4 separate regions of the Homo sapiens genome follow, and regions 1, 2 and 4 are each linked to region 3. Evidence: promoter capture Hi-C in 16 types of primary human blood cells and fetal thymus (Javierre and others, 2016). All regions are on one chromosome and are shown on one strand. Each heading gives the region's core, a stretch centred on a gene start or on the middle of the fragment in contact. The rest is flanking DNA. Distances are from core to core; before and after follow the strand shown. Region 1 overlaps MTAP (methylthioadenosine phosphorylase). Region 2 has its middle 5.3 kb from the start of KLHL9. Region 3 holds the start of HAUS6 (HAUS augmin like complex subunit 6). Region 4 has its middle 6.0 kb from the start of IFNW1.

Evidence for each region. The method cuts DNA at HindIII sites, captures the fragments that hold promoters and counts their contacts. A CHiCAGO score of 5 or more calls a contact.
Region 1: a fragment that was not itself captured here is called in contact with the fragment with the promoter of HAUS6 in region 3 in 1 of 17 cell types (activated CD4 T cells); the score reaches 7.6 in activated CD4 T cells.
Region 2: a fragment that was not itself captured here is called in contact with the fragment with the promoter of HAUS6 in region 3 in 1 of 17 cell types (total CD4 T cells); the score reaches 5.1 in total CD4 T cells.
Region 4: a fragment that was not itself captured here is called in contact with the fragment with the promoter of HAUS6 in region 3 in 1 of 17 cell types (M0 macrophages); the score reaches 5.0 in M0 macrophages.

What each region holds. Positions count from the first base shown.
Region 1 is chr9:21,803,086-21,805,969 of GRCh38, forward strand. All of the region lies in intron 1 of MTAP (methylthioadenosine phosphorylase), which reads left to right. Among named protein-coding and RNA genes, the nearest start is that of MTAP, 1.9 kb to the left of the region's middle. RefSeq lists enhancers at 184-393, 2,052-2,196 and a cis regulatory region at 2,124-2,125. The HindIII fragment of the contact is 318 bases long and covers 1,092-1,409 here.
Region 2 is chr9:21,339,053-21,342,366 of GRCh38, forward strand. No RefSeq gene overlaps it. Among named protein-coding and RNA genes, the nearest start is that of KLHL9, 5.3 kb to the left of the region's middle. The HindIII fragment of the contact is 1,481 bases long and covers 754-2,234 here.
Region 3 is chr9:19,101,640-19,104,489 of GRCh38, forward strand. HAUS6 (HAUS augmin like complex subunit 6) reads right to left here and starts at 1,265. Exons shown (of 17, transcript NM_017645.5): 1 at 885-1,265. The coding sequence starts at 1,012. RefSeq lists an enhancer at 944-1,507. The HindIII fragment of the contact is 8,228 bases long and covers 1-2,850 here.
Region 4 is chr9:21,146,258-21,149,383 of GRCh38, forward strand. No RefSeq gene overlaps it. Among named protein-coding and RNA genes, the nearest start is that of IFNW1, 6.0 kb to the left of the region's middle. The HindIII fragment of the contact is 1,199 bases long and covers 934-2,132 here.

The DNA.
Region 1 (2,884 bases), core at 1-2,500, 2.7 Mb after region 3:
TTTAGAGAGAGAGGTCGTGGATGGGAGAGGCTGCACCCATGCCACCACCATTCCTGAGAACCACTCTTCTTCCAAGAAAGACACCCGGCTGGAGTCAGGAGGTGTCCGGGCGCCTGCAGCTTCTGTGACCGTCTCCTGGTGCCTTGCGGGACTCCAGCTTCCGCTCTCTGACTCTGCTTGTTGCCTGCGGCCCACGTGGGAGAACTGCTTACTTGCTCTTTTGTATGCTTCCGGCTTCTTTTTCCTCCAAACGTAGGCCTTCTCCGCGCTGAAGTTTTCCCCAGCAGCGTAATACTGTAAGAATTCTGAGACTTTCTTCGAAAAGGAGTACAGGCGTCCGTTTTTAGGGCTGCACTGTTTGGAGGCCTCTGGCTTGAAACTGCTTTGTTTTGCAGCCTTGCAAGTTAGAGTTCAATTTCCTTGTGCCCTAGGCCCTGAGAGGCCTTGATACAAGGGGTCATTGTGCGGTGGGAAGCTTTGTGCTGAGGAGGGCACGAGTTCTGAGAGTAGCAGCTGGCTTCCCTGGGGTTTTAAACACTTCTCTCCTGGTTAGTATTCCGAGAGAGAATTACAGCACGTAAAGAAAAATTGATGATAAAACTTAAGACCTCTTCTAGGCAGTTTATTACTGGCTAAGAATGCGTTCTTGTTTGATTTTTAGAAATTTTTGGCCTATGGGATAGGAAGGTCTGCGATCTTCTCCAAAGCATCTCGATTCCCTACACTCGACTGCAGTTTTCCCGGGAGAAGGCGAATTTCTGCGGTCAGTGTGTAATCAGCCAGATTAGTTTATTACGCCCTTGCAGGTTTAAATGAGCCACTTAGAATGAGAGGAATGGTGAAGGGTGTTGCATCCAGACTTATATATGAAACTTATTTTGTCATTTTGAAAAGAATCTTGCATCCAGCAAATATTTATAGAAGGCCTCTCCCCTGCCTTCATTGTTTGGCGGAAACAAGGCAGAAATGGTTTTCATGAAACTCGTGTGAAGTATGTGACTTCTCTTAGGTGCTCATCTATAAACTGAGAATTTTACTGCAGAATTTGCTAGGAGGGCTAGAATTATATTGTCTATGTTGCACATGGTAGAAGCTTATTAAGTGGTAGTGCTTATAAGTGGGGGAACTGAGATTAATTTTGAATGATCTTTTCCCCAAAAATTATTAAGTTATTGTGTTAGGTATCATTAGGCCACAACTTTTCACCTTATCCTTGCAGGAATACACTTCAAGCGCCATTAAAAATGGAGAAATGGTGTTTAAAACAGTCTTACTTTAATCTGGTTAGCATTCTCCCTGCCACAGGGTTTCCCTTCAAATTAATGCAGTGCATTTAAGTGCAGAATGGGCAATGGGATTCTCAGAGACCTGATGTAAATATTGAATAGTGTGTATTTTTGGTCTTGGCAAGCTTCTGGATATAAAATTAAGAGGTACATATGGTGCTAGGACTGCCTGCTGATTTCTCTTTTAATTTAGAACAGATGACAGCTTTGCCGTAGAGATTCCATGATGCCAGCACCGTATTCCCCAGACTTCTAAGGCAACATTCTGTATAGAAGATGTGAGGTGCCAGTGTCCAGAGCAAAATAGGTTAATAAAAACCACATCCTATTCCCAAATTATAGAATGATGGGGCTGGAGTGTTCCTTCAAGACCATCCATATAGCCACACAAACCCGTTTTGCGGGTGTAAAGTTGAGGCCCAGAAAGGTCAGCTAAGTATCCAGAATTACACAGCTGGACCTAGATAATGACAGAATTGGGCCTAGAGCCTGGCATTCCACCAACTAGATGTGAGGCATTTCTGAAATCTGAAGTGTGGTCTCTGCCCTGTTTTCTTGTGACCTAATGCACAATTAAAATGAGCACTTGATAGAATGTCCATCTTGAAGAGGGAGGCAGAGGGTATGCAGAAAGCAGGCTGCCTCCAGTGCCCACTGCACACCACCCAGGTATAGGTATAGGAGGCACATGTGTGTCTGAACCCCATTGGTGTCACTGGCAGGTCCTTTGAGAGGTTGCTGGATTTAAATACAGTAACATGTAACACACTCAGCCCAGTTCCAGGTACTCCTTTAATGTCAGCCCAAGTACCTCTCTTCTTAAAATAGAGATATTAACGGGGTGGATCTTAAATTCATTCTCAATTTTAGAGGTGCAGTTAACTCATGCAAGTGAAAGATTCCACTGAGTTTTGGATTGGCAGTATATTTGGCATATCTTTCAAATCTAGCCATCTACTGGTGGAATCCTATTCAAAAATATTTATTGAATACCTGCTAGACAATGGGGATGCAGCTTTGAGTAAGCGAGGCCTTTATTTATTTTCTTCAAGTTTATATTCTAGTCAGGGTGGGAAACCAACTGACATGAAAGTGAAACAGCAGTAAGATTCCATTGGGTGAGGGGTGTCAGAAAAGACTCCTAGGGAGGTGGATTTTAAGCTGTGCAGTAGTCTGCCTCCAAAATCTGTATGTTGAAACCTAATCGCCAATGTGATGGTATTAGAAGATGGGGCCTTTGGGCGTGATTGGGGTCATAAAGGTGGAGCCCTCATGAATGGAAGCAGTGCCCTTACAAAAGAGGCCCCAGAGAGCTGCCTTATTCCCTCTACTAAGTGAGAGGACACCATCTATGAGCCAAAACGTGGGCCTTCCTCAGACACTGAATCTGCTGTGACCTTGAACTTGCTAAGCCTCCAGACTATGAGAAATTTCTGCTGTTTATAAGCCACCCAGTCCTAAGATATTTTGTTATAGCAGCCTGAATGGACTTAAGCTGATAGTGAAAATAGGGATAAAGGGTAAAGATCCAAGTGAAGACCTGAGGAGAGAGATGGGGGTAGGAGAGCGAAAACCAAGATGTCGCAGAAGTGAGCTCA
Region 2 (3,314 bases), core at 244-2,743, 2.2 Mb after region 3:
AACTTATGGAAAATGCGTTTGAAATCCTACTTCTTTCTTTCAAACAAATGGGCTCTCTTTATTAATGTGGATAAATAAAATCCAAATACTCTTCAGAGAGAGTGTAGATGACTGCTCAGAGAGCTCATTTATCACATTCTTCGTACACCAGGGATGCTAATTGTGCAAAAATACTGAAACCTAAGTAAGGCTGGACAAGGATGGCCATCGTAGTAAAGGCCATCTCTGACCAGATGGGGATGCTTCTAGGGAAGTGTATTTAGCTGCCATGCAGAGAATGTCTGCAAACCACCACGTTGTGAGTTTATTGATTCACTGGTTTCCTATTCTCTACTGCCTAGTCATGAAACCCACTCATACTTTGGTAACATTTTATAAATTTCTCTCTTAGCAGAGATGATATGAGGAGTGATCTGCGGATCAGTATTGATAAGAGATGTCTTGAAGACATCCATTTAGTGAATGGTGAGGGGCAGAGATAGGATTCATAGCTGGTTCTACCTGTATGTACAGTGTTCTTTTCTCTGTGTTTAATGTATCTAAGTTAGACTTTGTTGTTTGTCATGAATGCAGAATTGACAAGAGCACTCAATACTAAGAAGGCATTAAAAGAAAACATTGTTTTTGATTTCTTTCATCAGTGTTAAGAAAGAACAGGGAAAGAAAAAATCTATTATTATGTGCCATCTATAAAATAAATAATATGTTACATGTTTTAATCCACCAGTTACAGTGTAAATAGTAATACTATCAAGCTTACTTTATCAATGAAGAAAGCAGGACGCTGAGAGAAAAGGTGATCCACGTAGAGTGCACAAGTGATTGGCAGAGTTAGGATTTGAGTCTAGGTGTGCTGATGGAAAACTTCATGCACTCAGTGGATATCATGTTTCCCCAAGGTTGGGGGCTATCAGGATCGGGTAGGTTCTTCTTTCTTTCTCTTCTTCACAAGTTACCCTGTTGGAGACCCAAACTCACAGCGTCTGCCCTACTCACTGTGCTTCACTCATTTCCTCAATTATTGTCTTACCTGCCTGTGGCATCTGTCTGGGTCACAGACAGACCTCCTATCACCTGCATAAGTGCAGTGAAGAACTCAGGTACCCCAAGGATTCTGAGGGGTTGAGTAACACATAAATCTTCAGTAAAGAGACGGGCCTGAATAGGACTTCTTACAAGTTTAGCACCAACCATGTCCAGAGTGCCTAGCTGGCCTCACTGGAGAAAAGGATTACTCATGAAATCCTCTTGGTCTATTTTCTCCTGTCCTTTGTGAAATGGTGAAGAAAATAATAGACCCCAAACTGTTCTCAGCTCACATATTCTCCTTTTTAGCTGTGGCCTTTGGGCAAGTCTTTTTCCCTCAGAGATAGATGCCTGCTCACAGGGTCTGAGCCGTAAGTAGGAGGAAGTCAAAAGGTATGTGCAGAACAATCTACAAAGTGCTATGTGGTGGTTAGTGGTTATTTCTCTAAACACATCTAATTGTATTGATTCAGACTGTTGATCGAGCTTGCCATGCTATTTTAGACAGCACAATTTAGTGACTAAAGGGTATGACTCTAGAGCCAGAGTTCCTGGTTTGGATTCCAGCTCTGCTATTTAATAGCAATATGACCATGGCAAGTACCATGAACATTATGCTCCCTAGTTTCCTCGTCTGTAATATGGGAAGAATAATAGTATTGATCTCATAGGATTATTGTAACAATCAGATTAATAAATACGAAATGGCTGAAACTACCTAGCAAAAATAATCACTGCTGTTAGAAGCGAGAGTGTCTATCCCCAGGGCAGAGGCAGAAGAGTTGGTCTTACTTAGGTACTGACTGGCACAGAGCACTAGAGAGGCTTCTAAGTCCTGAGCAAACTGTTTCTGACATGCTGCTACTTTCACAATGTATTCAGTGTGTGAGGAACCATGTCACTGTGTGCGTAAGACGTGTATACTTTCATTCTGTGTGTTATGCTTTCAAAAATGAGTTGCTTTTTAAAAAACAATTGTGCTAGAAAAAATTCCTGGGATAGCTTAAGATTTCCAAAGACTAGTGGGATCCAAGCCAATACATATATATATATTTCATCTATCTAAATAGCTATTATTAACCTGATATCTAATCTATATTTACCTATCTATATCTATATTTATCTATATCTATCTATGTGTACATATCAGATCAAAGTTTTTCCAGGGGCTCGCCATTGCTTTCCATGTTGGCTCTACACAAGAGAGAAGCTTGTCCCCAGGTTCACCTGAGATGGGATGGGGAAGTGGCTGATGAAAAGGTATTGAAAGGCTGTCCTGTTCAAGTGTGCTGAACTCCCTTCATCAGCCAATTCATAACCCTGAATCACAATGTTTGGGATTTTACTCTGAAGACCTCTCTCACACTCAGATAAATTATTTGTGACCTTTGGTTAGAAGCCCTAGGCCCTGCTGTCTCCCCTGACCTGCCTTGCCTGTTCTCTAAGTCTAATGATGTTCTCATCTTTTCCCAGTACTCTCATTCCTGATGTATCTGTGTTCCAATAATTAATTCAGAATAATGGAAAATGATATTTGGGCCCTTTTCTTTACCTTGCCTAATTGATGTCTCTGCTTTCTACGAACAGTGGTAGTAAGTCAGATGTGGGTATATCAATCCTAATCCCAAGAACCACAACATTTTTATTCTTTCCCCAGCACCTCCTTACCCCTCAAGTTAGAGACCACATCTTTAATCTGACCCTCTGGCCTAATGTGCACACAGCCACCTATCTTCCAATTTAACCCTCCCTAACTCCCTCTAAATGTGCTGGCAGGAGTCAGCTCATCACAATTGAGAAATTTTGGCACATCATTACTGGAAGATGATTGCTTTTGTCCTTCAAACAGTCAATTGGCCAAGACAGCAGAGTGTTGCTGTGATTGAACTAGGTTGTCAGCAGTGATCTCCTCTTTTTTTGATCTGGTACTAACGTCAATATTTTCATAGCCTTCAGATGATAGGAGCAAAAATTTATGTTCAGTGTGTGAGCGTGGGCAGGGGTTGGGTAAATTATCCTTTGCAAAATTTTTATGTTGAATAGCAAAATTAATTTTATTTTTCCAAATGTGGATTATATCTACGTTGAATTCAATTCATTAAATTGCTGAATACTTTTTATGCTTTAAGTTTCTAAGCTGGCCACAGGGGATTTTATGATGATTTTGCTTCCATCAGATTACATTGTTCTCATTGGTTTCAAAGAACTTCTTGATTTCTGCCTTAATTTCTTTATTTACCCAGGAGTCTTTCAGGAGCAGGTTGCTCAATTTCCATGTAATTGTGTGG
Region 3 (2,850 bases), core at 15-2,514:
GGCCGGGCACGGTGGCTCACGCCTGTAATCCCAGCACTTTGGGAGGCCGAGGCAGGTGGATCATGAGCTCAGGAGATCGAGACCATCCTGGCCAACATGGTGAAACCCCGTCTCTACTAAAGATACAAAAATTGGTTGGGCGTGGTGGCAAGTGCCTGTAATCCCAGCTACTCGGGAGGCTGAGGCAGGAGAATCGCTTGAACCAGGGAGTTGGAGGGTGCAGTGAGCCGAGATCGTGCCACTGCACTCCAGCCTGGCAACAGAGGGAGACTCCATATGAAAGAAAAGAATTCCTCTTGGCCTACAGTGGGAATGATTAAATAGAGATACTGGCTAAAGTTGATAAAACAGAAGTGGAAAAAGTAGGGAAGGGGCTTTTACTTTCCATACTTTTCTTAAAAGGGTATTTGTTTTTAATACCCTTCTCCGTTGTTTTATGCTAACTCCAACATGCCTTACTAATTAAAAAATTAAAAATTATAAAATTAAACAACCACCTTCAAAGGCTCCCTTGAGTCCAAAAGGTGTTTTGTACATATGGTTCCCATGCTCTTCCACTACCACCCGCCATCCCTCCCACTACTTCACAGACCACCCCTCCACCACATAGGCAGAGTTAAGCTGCTCCTCCAGTCTTGCACTCTCCCCATCTGCAGACTTTTGCACTCCCCTACAGAGCGCTTCCGGCACTCTTGCATTATTTACTGTCTGTCTCTGCCCCTAGGCTGGCAGCAACTGGGAGTAGGAACTTTGGAGCCAATGCCTGGCACAGAGTAACTGCTCAACCAATTCTGATTAATCAACCTCCGGGGTCTACAAAAGGGGGAGTCCCCCGGCGTCCCCCGGTTCAGGCTCCCTCGCCCCGCCGGCCCCGGCCTCCTTACACTCCGAGGTGCGTGTGCGACACGATCTTTCCGCAGGCAATGGTTGCCGGGCCTGGCTCGAAGCCGAGCGCCTGCAGATACATCCAGAGATGCTCCTTCTCGAAAGCGGTGACCGAGGCCGAGCTCATCCTCGCGGTAGGCACGGTGGCTGCAAAGAAAGAAAGCGCAAGCCCAGGGGACTCGGAGGGCCCTCAAGATCCCTCCCTACGGTCAGCCTGAGGTCGCGGTGGTCCTTCCATTGCCAACGCCTGCTCCTTTCACGCCCAGAGCGATTTCGCCTCAAAGGGCCTCACAACCTCCGGGAAATTGAGTTTCTAACGGTATAGTGCGGCCACCACTGCCTCAGCGAAGCCACCACAAACCGAGACTCCCGCCCTTAAGGAAGAGCAGTGTGCGCCGGCGCCGCCAGGCGTCCGAGGGAGGAGGGACTTCCGGCAAAGACTATATCTCCCGCCATGCAATGCGTCCTTCTCTCCTCCCTTCCGGCCATGCCCAGCCAAGAAACTGCAAGACCCACCGGGCATTGCGCGGCCAGCGACTTGCTCTGCGCTTGCTTAACCGCTGTCGTGCCCAGATCCTCGGGCCTTCGGGTTTCTGATTCTTGGTTAGTGGGGTCCATTTGCTTGTGTATCCTAGTTGTTACGTCACAAAAAAGCCATAAATGGAGCACTATGCCTCGGTGTAGAGTTAAAGCATTGGTTCCATCCTCCGCTATGCTCACTGTGACTCTAATCAAGTCACGTAATCTCTGAGCCTCATTTCTGTCGTTAGCGAAATCTATGTCCTCAAATGCCGGATGTTCCTTTTCCTGCTTTAAATGAAATCTGGCTCTATACTCCCCTGCAGTCCTGCAGTCTTTTTTTTTTTTTTTTTTTTTTTTGAGACGGGGTTTCGCTCTTGTTGCTCAAGTTGGGGTGCAGTGACGCGATTTCGGCTCACTGCAACCTCCGCCTCCCGGGTTCAAGCGATTCTCCTGCCTCAGCCTCCCGAGTAGCTGGGATTAACAGGTGTCCGCCACCACGCCCGGCTAATTTTTTTGTATTTTTAATGGAGACGGGGTTTCACCATGTTGGCTGGCTGGTCTCGAACTCCTGACCTCAGGTTATCTGCCGGTCTTGGCCTCCCAAAGTGCTGGGATTACAGGCGTGAGCCACTGCGCCTGGCCGCCTGCAGTCCTCTTAATTTTTTTTTTTTTTTTTTTTTTTTTTTTGAGACGGAGTCTAGCTCTGTCTCCCAGGCTGGAGTGCAGTGGCGCAATCTCGGCTCACTGCAAGCTCCGCCTCCCAGGTTCACGCCATTCTCCTGCCTCAGCCTCCCGAGTAGCTGGGACTACAGGCTCCCACCACCACGCCGGGCTAATTTTTTGTATTTTTAGTAGAGACGGGGTTTCACCCTGTTAGCCAGGATGGTCTCGATCTCCTGACCTCGTGATCCGCCCTCCTCGGCCTCCCGAAGTGCTGGGATTATAGGCGTGAGCCACCGCACCCGGCCCGTCGTCTTAATTGACAGCTGTTGCCTACCACAAACCCCACTGACAACAGGGCCTGGAAGTGGATTGGGTAACCTGCTTTTAAGTCTCATTGCTACCTCTGGCAATGATTGTCTCCTGCCTCACTAAAATCACCTTAATAAAAGAGAGAGAGGCGGGGCACAGTGGCTCACGCCTATAATCCCAGCACTTTGGGAGGCCAAGGTGGGCGGATCACCTGAGGTGGGGAGTTCGAGACCAGCCTGACCAACATGTAGAAACCCCGTCTCTACTAAAAATACAAAATTAGCCGGGCGTGGTAGCGCATGCCTGTAATCCCAGCTCAGCTACTCGGGAGGCTGAGGCAGAAGAATCGCTTGAACCCGGGAGGCAGACGTTGCAGTGAGCCAAGATCCTTCCACTGCATTCCAGCCTGGGCGACAAAGTGAGACTCTGTCTCAAAAAAAAAAAAAAAAAAGAGGAGAGAGAGAGAGAGAA
Region 4 (3,126 bases), core at 283-2,782, 2.0 Mb after region 3:
CCACCACAGTACTTAGTATAGATGTCTTTATTTTTCTAACCTCATCATATTTAAAAAATCCTAAAATACAATGACAGGATTGAAAGAAACTTGTCAAAAAAATCACCATTGGCTGGATATGGTGGCTCTTCCCTATAATCTCAGTGCTTTGGGAGGCCAAGGCAGGAGTTCAAGACCAGCCTGAGCAACATAGCAAGACATTGTACATACAAAAATAATTAGCTGGGCATTGTGGTATGCACCTGTAGTTCCAGCTACTCCGAAGGCTGAAGTGGGAAGATCGCTTGAGCCCAGAAGCTGGAGATTATAGTGAGCTATGATCCTCCCACTGCATTCCAGCATGGGTGACAGAGTGAGACCCTATCTCTAAAACAAAGTAAAATAAAATAATAATCACCATTAATGGATAAAATGATCAAGGCATTTTTTGGAATAGTTTCAATAGGATTGGTATCCATTCTTCTTTTTTTGTCCAGTAGAATTTGGCTGTGAATCCATCTGATGCAGGGCTTTTTATTGTTGGTAAGTTTTTTCTTTGTTTGTTTGTTTGTTTTTTAGTATTGATTCAATTTCACGACTTATTATGGGTATGTTCGAGTATTCAATTTCTTCTTGATTCAATCTTTGGAGGTTAAATGTTTCCAGGAATGTATCCATTTATTCTAGGTTTTCTAGTTTGTGTTCATAGAAGTGTTCAAAACACTCTCTGAAGTTTTTTGTATTTCTGTGAGGTTGGTGTAACATCACTTTTGTCATATCTGTGTTTATTTGGATCTTCTCTCTTTTTCTCTTCATTAATTTAGCTAGCAGTATGTCAACCTTATTTATTCTTTCAAAAATCAAACCTTTGTTTTCGTTTCTTTTTTGTATAGATTTTCACATCTCAATTTCTTTCAGTTGAACTCTGATTTTGGTTATTTCTTTTCTTCTGCAAGCTTTGGAGTTGTTCTACTCTTGTTTTCCTAGTTCTTTTTGGTGTGATGTTAGCTTGCTAATTTGGGATCTTTCTGACTTTTTGATGTAGCCATTTAATGCTATTAATTTTACTCCTAATACTGATTTAGCTGTGCCCCAGAGATTCTGAAGGGTTGTATCTTTGTTTTCATTAGTTTCCAAGAATTTCTTGATTTTTGCCTTAATTTCTTTGTTTACCTGAAAGTCATCCAGGAATAGGCTGTCTCATTTCCATGTAGTTACATGGTTCTGAGAGAGCTTCTTGGTATTAATTTCAATTATTATTGCACCATGGTCCAGGAGTGTGCTTGGTATGATTTTTTTTTTATTTTGTTGAGAATTGCTTTATGGACAAGCACGTGGTTGACCTTAGAGTATGCACTATGTGCAGACGAGAATGTGTACTCTGCTGTTGTTGGGTGGAGTGTTCTGTAGATATCTGTTAGGTACATTTGATCAAGTGTTGCATTTAGGTCTCAAATATATTTGTTAGTTTTCTGCCTTGTTGATCTGTCTAACACTGTCAGTGGGGTTTGGAAGTCTTTTGCTATTATTGTGTAGTTATCTAAGTCTCTTTGTAGGTCTCTAAAAACTTATGAATCTGGGCACTCTAGTTTTGGGTGCATATATATTTAGGGTAGTAAGTCTTCTTGTTAAATCGAGCTCTTTATGTAATGCCATTTTTTGTTCTTGTTGATTATACTGGTTTAATGTCTGTTTTATTTGAAATAAGAATAATAACCTTTACTCTCTTTTTTTTTTCTGTTTGTTTGATAGATCTTTCTCCATCTCTTTACTTTGAATCTGTGGATATCATTGCATGTGAGATGGGTTTCTTGATGACAGCATACATTTGGATATTGCTTCTTTATCCATCTTGCTACTCGGTCTTTTAAATGGGGGCATTTAACCCATTTACATTCAAGGTTAATATTGACATGTGAGGATTTGATCCTGTCATTGTGTTGTTAGCCTGCTGTTATATAGAGTTGGGCTGCAGTTGGTTTATAGTGTCAGTGGGCTAGGTACTTAAGTGTGTTTTTGTGGTGGCTGGTAATAGTCTTTCATTTCCATGTTAAATACTTCCTTAAGGACCTCTTGTAAGGAAGGTCTGGTGGTAACAAATTTCTTTAGCATTTGTTTATCTGAAAAGGATTTTATTTCTCCTTTGCTAAGGAAGCTTAGTTTGGCTGGATATAAAATTCTTGGTTGGAATTTCTTTTCTTTAAGGATGCTGAATATAGGCCCGCAATCTCTTCTGGCTTGTAAGGTTTCTGCTGAAAGGTATGTTGTTAGCCTGATGGGGTTCCCTTTATAGGTGACCTGCCCCTCCTCTCTAGCTTTCTTCAATATTTTTTCTTCCATGTTAATGTCAAAGAATCTGATGACTATGTGTCTTTGGTATGTTAATTTTGTATAGTTTCTTGCTGGGGTTCTCTGAATTTCCTCAATTTGTATGTCAACTTCTTTAGAAAGGTTGGGGAAGCTCTGAGTCTTCAAGCTCTGAGATTCCTTCCTCAGCTTAGTCTATTCTGCTGTTAATACTTCTGATTGTGTTATATAATTCTTGTAAGAGTTTTTCAGCTTTAGAAGATCAGCTGTTTCTTTTTTGAAATGGCTATTTCATCTTTCAGCTCTTGTATTATTTTATTGGATTCTTTATATTCCTTGGATTGGATTTCAACTTTCTATTGAATATCAATGGTCTTCATTTCCATACAGATTCTGAATTCTATGTCTGTCATTCTAGCCATCAATTAAGAACCACTGCTGGGAAGCTAGTGTGGTCATTTGGAGGTAAGAAGACACTCTGGTTTCCAGAAGTGCCTGAGTTCTTGTGCTGATTCTTTCTCATCTGTATAGGTTGATATTCCTTTAATCTTTGAAGCTGCTGTCCTTTGGGTGGGGTTTTAAAATTTTACATTCTTTGAAGCTCTTGAGAGTTTGACTATGGTATAAGTTGGGTTTAGTTGATTGGTTTCATTTCTGGATGATTTCAGGGGTACAAGTTTCAGCTCAGCACTCCTGAACTTCATGTTTTAATGCTGGGGTGTGGGGGTACTGGGATCAGGACTATGGCTTTTTTTCTGTGGTCCCTCAAGGTTAAGCATTTGATATGCTGGAGGGGCCAAGGTGTTCCTTGTATGCTGGCAACAGCACTCCAATGAGGGG